Linked DNA regions of Homo sapiens: region 1 is linked to region 2. Evidence: promoter capture Hi-C in human tissues and cell types (Jung and others, 2019). All regions are on one chromosome and are shown on one strand. The core of a region is centred on a gene start or on the middle of the fragment in contact, and the rest is flanking DNA. Distances in the headings are between cores, read along the strand shown. Region 1 overlaps FERRY3 (FERRY endosomal RAB5 effector complex subunit 3). Region 2 holds the start of DYRK4 (dual specificity tyrosine phosphorylation regulated kinase 4).

Region 1 (3,650 bases), core at 804-3,303, 43 kb before region 2:
ACAAACTTCTAAATGCGAACTATCAAATATTTAGTATTTACTTACAATGAGATTTAGTAGAAAAAGAAAATAATACTTATTTTTCTTAATAAGATTTCTTATACTTGTCTTTTAAATAATTATGCCTTAAGTTAGGGCACAGCAATTTTGTTTTGATTAGAGACTTAACCTCTCTAACACTCAAAAGAGTTAATTATATTGACATTTCTTTGTTAATGTAATTCCAGGTCTTCTTTAAATAATACTTTCATCATAATCCACCCCAAAAGGTGCTACAAAATATAAGAAGGTTCTTATATTTATGAGGGGAAATAAATTCTATTTAAGCTTCTTTCAAAAACAAGTATACGTTTCATATATTTTATATATTCTACATTTTATATATTTACAAATTTAGAAATAATCATAAAAAGTGAATTGTACTAAGAGGGAAGGTAGAATTTTACCTAGCAAATTTAAGAGGTAGGTTATTAAAATATATATATATATATATATATAGACAGAGAGAGAGAGAGAGAGAGAGAGAGAGACAAATGGATGAGCTAAAAATCACCAAGCCAGAATTTGCTTCTAAACTGAAAACATGTGATTGCTCTTTTTGTTTTACCTCGTAATGAGAATTCTATAAAAACATTATTTATAATAGCATTTTAAGAAAAATAAATATGAAGCACTCTATCGATGCTACAGTTTGAAATAAAATAACTATGGCTGGGTATGTTTGTTTGGTCTACTTGGATGTCAAGGTGATTAAAATTTTTTTTCATTTTCCCTGTAATTCCTTTCTTTGTAAGAATGGTGTTACAGGATGAAATTTAACAAAATAAATGTGTATGATGTTAACTTACCTCTTTTAATACCACTATATGAATTAATTCGATTATCTACTAGTAAAACCAGGCCACAGAGAGATGTAGAATAAAGTGACAGAGCTGTTTGGAGCCGATGAAGTTTCACACCACTTCGATGATTTCTTTTATGCTTACAGAAGTCCAGCATATCTGCTCTCAGCAATCTCAAATTATGCATGGTCTTCAACTGGGCTCCTGGGGGTAGGCAATAGTCCAGGAAAGATACTTAAGCAGCTACAGAAAGTCCAGTATAACAAGATGCAAATCTCTATGGCAAGAATCCAGATAAATCTGTACCACAAAATAATTAAAAATGGGCCTTGCAACTTCCCATTTTAATGACTTTTTCAGTTTAATCTATCTGCAAAAAACATTATATAAATATACAAAACTTAAAGCCAATAAAATATAGTCTTTCTTAAAGTAAAACATAATTTGGAATTAAAAATAACATAGGTACACTCTACTCACATGTTAGGAATTTTTCTCTTACAGCATATAAAAAAAGTTGCAGCGGTCAGGCACGGTGACTCATGCCTGTAATCCTAGCACTTTGGGAGGCCAAGGTGGGTGGATTGCTTGAGCCCAGGGGTTCAAGACCAGCCTGGGCAACATAGCGAAACCTTTTCTCTATTATTTTAAAAAAATAATAATTAAAAAATAGTTTCAGAAGTTACAATAAATTATAACTGCAAAAAAATTAACACACTTACCTAAGTGAATGGTAAAACTTTCTTCTAACTTTCTCTGTTCCTCATAAATCCTTCCAATTGCTTCTACAGATTCTCTGAACTGACTTGGCTGAACTTTAATTTCCTCACTAAAAGTAATAAAATTATTGATATACTTTTATGTTTGTCAAAAACTTTTCTTAAAGGAAAGCTTTATAATGAGAGAAAACTGAACAGCTGAAAGTCTTGCTTAATTTTTTCCTAAACTCATCCTTAATCCATGGTGACAAGTAAGACAGGTAAGCACCAACAGGTTCTAAAATTCCCACTTGTTCTTTCATTTCCTCACAATAAATAAAGCAGATTATTATTTTCAATCATTATAATGTCAATTAATATATTGCCATTTAACACTTTTAGCAGCCTAAGAGAATGATTAAATGAAGCGATTAACTTATTACTTTAAAATCACATTGTATTTTAAAATATATAATACATCCTATACCAGGGCTAGCCCTAGGCAAAATCAGAAAATAGATGAAGTGATAGCAATAAAAATTTAAAGTCAAATAAAGTAGATAATAAAAAAGATGAAGTTCATTTTGATGTATACACACCCTTTACTTTTACCATTTCTTGTTTGTTTTCTTTTTTACCTCCAACATTCTCCTCCCACTAAACTGCCTTTCTTTTTGCTCTCCTCTTTATAGTTCCTGAGAAGACTTCCACAAAAGAGCAATAACCGTATCACCGTTCAATTCCAACAGTGGTATATGCTGAGGATGATACAAGTCTGTACGAGTCATCCATTTCCCTGACTAAATTTTTGGGGCTAATCCCAACAGCCCCATTAGACTCAATGACTGACTTCATTAGTAAATACGGTAAATTTAAATCTAGCCAGATAATCTACAGCAGGGGACCCCAATTCCCCGTACAGGCCTGTTAGGAACCGGGCCGCACAGCAGGAAGTGAGCAGCAGGCGAGTGAGCATTACCACCTGAGCTCCACCTCCCATCCGCTCAGCGGCAGCATTAGGTTCTCATAGGAGCGTGAACTGTATTGTGAACTGCGCATGCAAGCGATCGAGGTTGTGTGCTCCTTGTGGAACAGTTTCATCCCCAAACCCTCTCCAGCTCTCCTGGAAAAAACTGTCTTCTGTGAAACTGGTCCTCGGTGCCAAAAAGGCTCAGAGGACTGCTGATCTACAAAATCATACTTTTCTGGAGTCCATCAAAGATTTGTGATCATAAGGCAACCTAGTAAACTGAATTCCAAACCGTGACATATACCTCCAAGGACAGACAGGACACATAAGGAGTTTCATCTTTGTTACAGCATAGCTGAAATAGGATGCTGTCATACAAGGGGGTAAAAAGAAAGCAGCTAAAATTTTAACAGATTCTTGAAGGCCAAGTGGGCTAGCATATCAAGTTAGAATAGGTCGGAGCCACAGGCACATGAACTTGCAAACTCTTTTCCACTGGCCTCCATCAGGTATTTCCAGAAAACACTGAGGGCAGGAGACAAGAGAGCCTTCTCAAGGGCACAGGCAGAAATGCTGAGAATCAAGATACACGAGGCTTGACCAAACCGGGAGTGGACAAAGACAACAAAGATGGAGAAGAGTTGAACAAAGTGACCTTCCGGACCCCCAACTATGAGCCTAGATTCAAGTAACAAGTAACAAGCCTACTGCTGGGAGGCAGAGCAAAAGTATGGAGGCAGACTCCACTCTGCAGCTCTGGCATGCGAAGGCTGCTGAAAGCAAGGGATGGAGCAGAGAGACAGAGAAAAATCCTCCTGGACCCCCAAGTGCCGTTCTAAGCACAAAGTAGCACCAGTAGAAAATGAAGCCGGTGGTACATTGAAGGTACTGACAGACACGAAACCAAGCTGGGATAAAAGTGGGGTAAAAGACTACACATTGGGTACAGTGTACATTGCTCGGGTGATGGATGCACCAAAATCTTAGAATCACCACTCAAGAACTTATTTGTGTAACCAAACACCACCTATTCCCCAAAAACCTACTGAAATAAAAAAATTAAAAGTTTTTTAAAAATAAAGCCATAAAGTCTACAAATTATATGAAAGCAAGATCTCTAACAAACTTGCCATGCATTTT
Region 2 (3,906 bases), core at 43-2,542:
TCCTTGCCTTGATTCTTAACCTACTCGGGCCTACTTCCATTGTTATTGCCACAGAGGGTTTTATAAAATAAAGTCAGCATGAACACCCCTCTGCAGTCTGCACATACACACCTTACCCTGGTCGAGTTCATAGCCTACTTGGTGTCTGACTCCCCCTTTCCTGCTGCTTCAACCTTGTCTCTGCCCACGTGCAACTTTGATCCCTGCCCCACTAAACTGGGTGCTGGCACAATGGTACCAAGCTTTTCTATGGCTCTGGCCTTCAGAATAGGACTTGCCTCCTTTACGTAGACAACTACTGCCTGTCCTTGAAGACTCAGATTCAACTCAGCTCTTTCAGAAAGCTTCATTTGAATGTCTTTTCTGCCTGGACCAGACTGTGCACCTCCAGGTCAACCTACTGCCACTCAATTACAAATTTCCCTTTTCATGCTTTCTACAATCTGGTGCAGAGTAAGCACTCAAAAAGTGTTCAGCTGATATATGGATTTTACCCAGAACTTTTGCTATGTACTTACTTTTTTTCTTTTTCTTTTTCTTTTTTTCTTTTTTTTTTTTTTTTTTGAGATGCAGTCTCGTTCTGTCGCCAGGCTGGAGTGCAGTGGCGCGATCTCGGCTCACTGCAACCTCCGCCTCCCGGGTTCCAGCGATTCTCCTGCCTCAGCCTCCCAAGTAGCTGGGACTACAGGCACGCACCACCACGCCCCGCTTATTTTTGTATTTTTAGTAGAGACGGGGTTTCACCATGTTGGCCAGGATGGTCTTGATCTCTTGGCCTCGTGATCCACCCGCCTTGGCCTCTCAAAGTGCTGGGATTACAGAAAAAAATGTCTAAATAGAGACAGGGGCGGGGGGGTCTCACTACTTTGAGCAGTTTGGTCTCGAACTCCAGACCTCAAGTGGTCTGCCTAGGCCTCCCAAAGTGCTGGGATTGCAGGTGTAAAACCACCGCGCCCGGCCAGAACTTCTGTGATGTAATTCTGATAACCACATGCTTCGCTTGAAGAAGGGGAGAGAGTAGGGATAATTTCATGTGTCCGGTCTGGGCAACCAACTTTAAGTTCTTTATGCTGGGATTTTGTTCAATTCTTGCCCTATACTTTAAAGAACTGGGGCAAGAGAATGCGAGTAGGAGGACGAGGAGTATGTTCTTCAGGCTGCTACTCTGCAAGGTGGTTTGGGACCACAGCCTGAGAAAGCCCTTCCAGCTCTGGAGTCATAAAAAGGGCGGGAGCCGTTTCTATAGCGACGGGAGGAGGGCGTGGCCGTCCCTTGCCCTCTGCCGGGCTCTCACAGCCTCCCGCAGCGGCGGGCGGTCAGCGCCGGCCTCATGCAGCTCCTCCCGCCGCCTATCCGCACCGGAACAAAGTAAGGGCCGCGGAGGCTCGTACTTCACGAGCAGTCAGGCGCGAGTACGAGGCAGGCGACGAAGCTTCTGGTCGACGGGGTCGTGGGGGGAGAATGAAAAGCGTGCAGAATGCAAGAGCTGACCGGGGAATGTGGGTCAGAGAGAGGCGGGCTGTGGTGCGCGGACAAGAAAATACAGTTGTAGTTTTTGCAGCAGCTGCATCCCCGGAATCCGACGTCAGTATACTTCCATGTTAAGATGCTGTCGCATCGGCGACTCCAGCTGAGTGCAGGACAGGGAGCGAGGGGTTCTGAGGAACTCAGCAGACCTATCCTGGAACTGTGCTTCCAGCCCTCACTGGGACGCCAGACTTTCTTCCTCCCTTTCTTTCTCTTCTTTACTGCATGTCCTCTTGGTAGTCGTAAGTGGGTCCACGACCACACGCCTCGCGTGGATGAGGCTCTGGCAGGCATTACTCATGTTCCCACCCAGCCCATATGCCCGGGCACCTCTGTGCTCAACCAGGGCCCAGCCCCTGACACAAAAGCGCGCGAAGGTGTGTGTAGATCACACACCCAGAGCTGCCACTCAGGAAATTCCCAATATTAGCAAATCTTTCCTTAAAAAAGAGATGAACAATGCACAATTTGAGGGTTTTTAAAGGCTATTCTGTGACATTTGCTGCATTTGAAATGTCCAGCAGCCCCTCAAAGCTTAGGAAAACCGTGACCCCTCTGACATGTCTTAAGCAACGGACAGCATCACCAATATTAATTCAAGCTTCACTGTCCAGGCTTAAGTGGAGACTCGGCAAAAGCAGGAGGCCATTTAGTGGAAAAGTTCAAACCGTGGAAACAACAAATGAAAATGTCCTTTGTCTTGCTTGAGCGATTTGATCACCTACATGTGGTCGGTATGTAAAACCTAGGAGTTCGAAGAAATTCTTCAAACATGCACTCTACCTTATTGTTTCTGTTACTTAAATCTGTTGTTTCTCTTGTTTGTTTTGGTCCTTATGGAGAAAGCAGAGGTAAATCGGAAGGGACTCTCTAGCAATATGCCAGCCACTCTTCCCTGACTTTGCCCTCTCCAACTCCACATATTGTTGCCTGCAACTTGGCTAGAATGCATAGTCCTCAAGCGTGTGGAGGACCCAGTGCTGGGATTTAGTGGTTTTAGCTGACTCTAAGCCCATCGTGAGTGTGTTGTGATGGCTCCCCAAAGAGCAAATGCTGGTGGAGGCTGCATTCATAGAAATGCAATGACCACATCAAAGAATATGGTCGTGCTGCCTGACTTAGCAATGAGTAGAACATAATCCAGACTCTAGAAACTGTAGCTACTTTGAGATCACAAAGAACTGGAAAATAGGAACAACCACAAGGCAGGCTCTCTCTGTCAGGCCTGGGTGTGCCATCACATGAAGAGAGGTTTGAAAAAACTTCACAGAATGCCTGGAGATGAGGAGATGCAAGGGAGAGAAAGCTTTTTTCTACTCAACTTTTGAACATTCAAGAACTCTTGAGTAGAAAAGAGATAGATTTGTTCCTTGGTACTCTGCAGAGGATAGCAAGGATCAGTGGAGGAAATTTTGCTCAATATAGTTTATTCTTCCAAGAAATATCAAGTACCAACCCTATGTAAATTAACAGTTGAGTGTGAAATGGGTTGCCTAGAAAAACAGTGCACTCTGTCATAGAAATATTCCAGCATAGACAGAGTGATTGCCAGGAATACCATAGAAAGAGGATTCTTCCCCAGGGTGGGAAAATGGATGACATGGTCTCCAAAACCTCTTCTAGCTCTTTAGAGTCTGGGAGTCAGTGAACCCTCAAGAGTCTCAGGGATATATGCAGAGGGTCCAAGGAATTCTCTGGCAGAAATGAGTGTGACTTAAAATACATTTAGATAGAAGAAATAAGACCTAGTGTTTAATAAATCAGTAGAATGACAATAGTAAACAATAATCTATTGTATATTTCAAAATAGCTAGTAGAGAATAATTTGAAGCCCTGACTTGATTATATATTATATAAATATAAATATACATCTATTATATATCAATTAAAAAATGAATGTAACTTAAGTTCATTAAAAACATTATCACCTGTTCACAGAATGCAAACGGAATCCCTGCAAACCCTGCACTGCCATACTTTCTGCCCCAAAGACAGCCCCCAGGGCATAAAGATCAAGCTACTGGCAATTGCAGTAGAAATCCTAAAATCATAACAGGTAAATCTCAAAAGACTTGTTTCCTTTCTGGATATTGAAGTACTCTATACACAGATGATGTGTATATATTAATATAAAATACTATGCAGTGCAGTAAGGCTGGCACCTCTGTGGATCTGCCTTAACCTTGAGTCTTCGAACTCCTTGAAAACAAGGCTTCTGTTTTATTTATCTTTGAATCCTCCATGCTTAGCCCAGTAGCTGGCACACAGTTGATGCTCTGGAATTTTTTGATGAATTAATCTATTTTAGATTTCTCTTCCCTCAGCAAATTTGTACCAAGTTTTCAACAGACAAGTCACTGTCCTTACCCCAAAAGGAAT

What was found. The method cuts DNA at HindIII sites, captures the fragments that hold promoters and counts their contacts. A contact is called where the count stands out against the background at its distance.
Region 1: a contact is called between a fragment that was not itself captured here and the fragment with the promoter of DYRK4 in region 2, in 1 of the 25 tissues and cell types used here (mesenchymal stem cells).

The regions. Positions count from the first base shown.
Region 1 is chr12:4,517,210-4,520,859 of GRCh38, forward strand. It overlaps FERRY3 (FERRY endosomal RAB5 effector complex subunit 3), which reads right to left. Exons shown (of 14, transcript NM_020374.4): 7 at 1,565-1,671; 8 at 849-1,046. Among named protein-coding and RNA genes, the nearest start is that of FERRY3, 19 kb to the right of the region's middle. The HindIII fragment of the contact is 4,640 bases long and covers 1-3,650 here.
Region 2 is chr12:4,560,916-4,564,821 of GRCh38, forward strand. It overlaps DYRK4 (dual specificity tyrosine phosphorylation regulated kinase 4), which reads left to right and starts at 1,293. Exons shown (of 15, transcript NM_001394779.1): 1 at 1,293-1,368. The coding sequence starts at 1,331. RefSeq lists a silencer at 1,128-1,422. The HindIII fragment of the contact is 2,169 bases long and covers 1-1,746 here.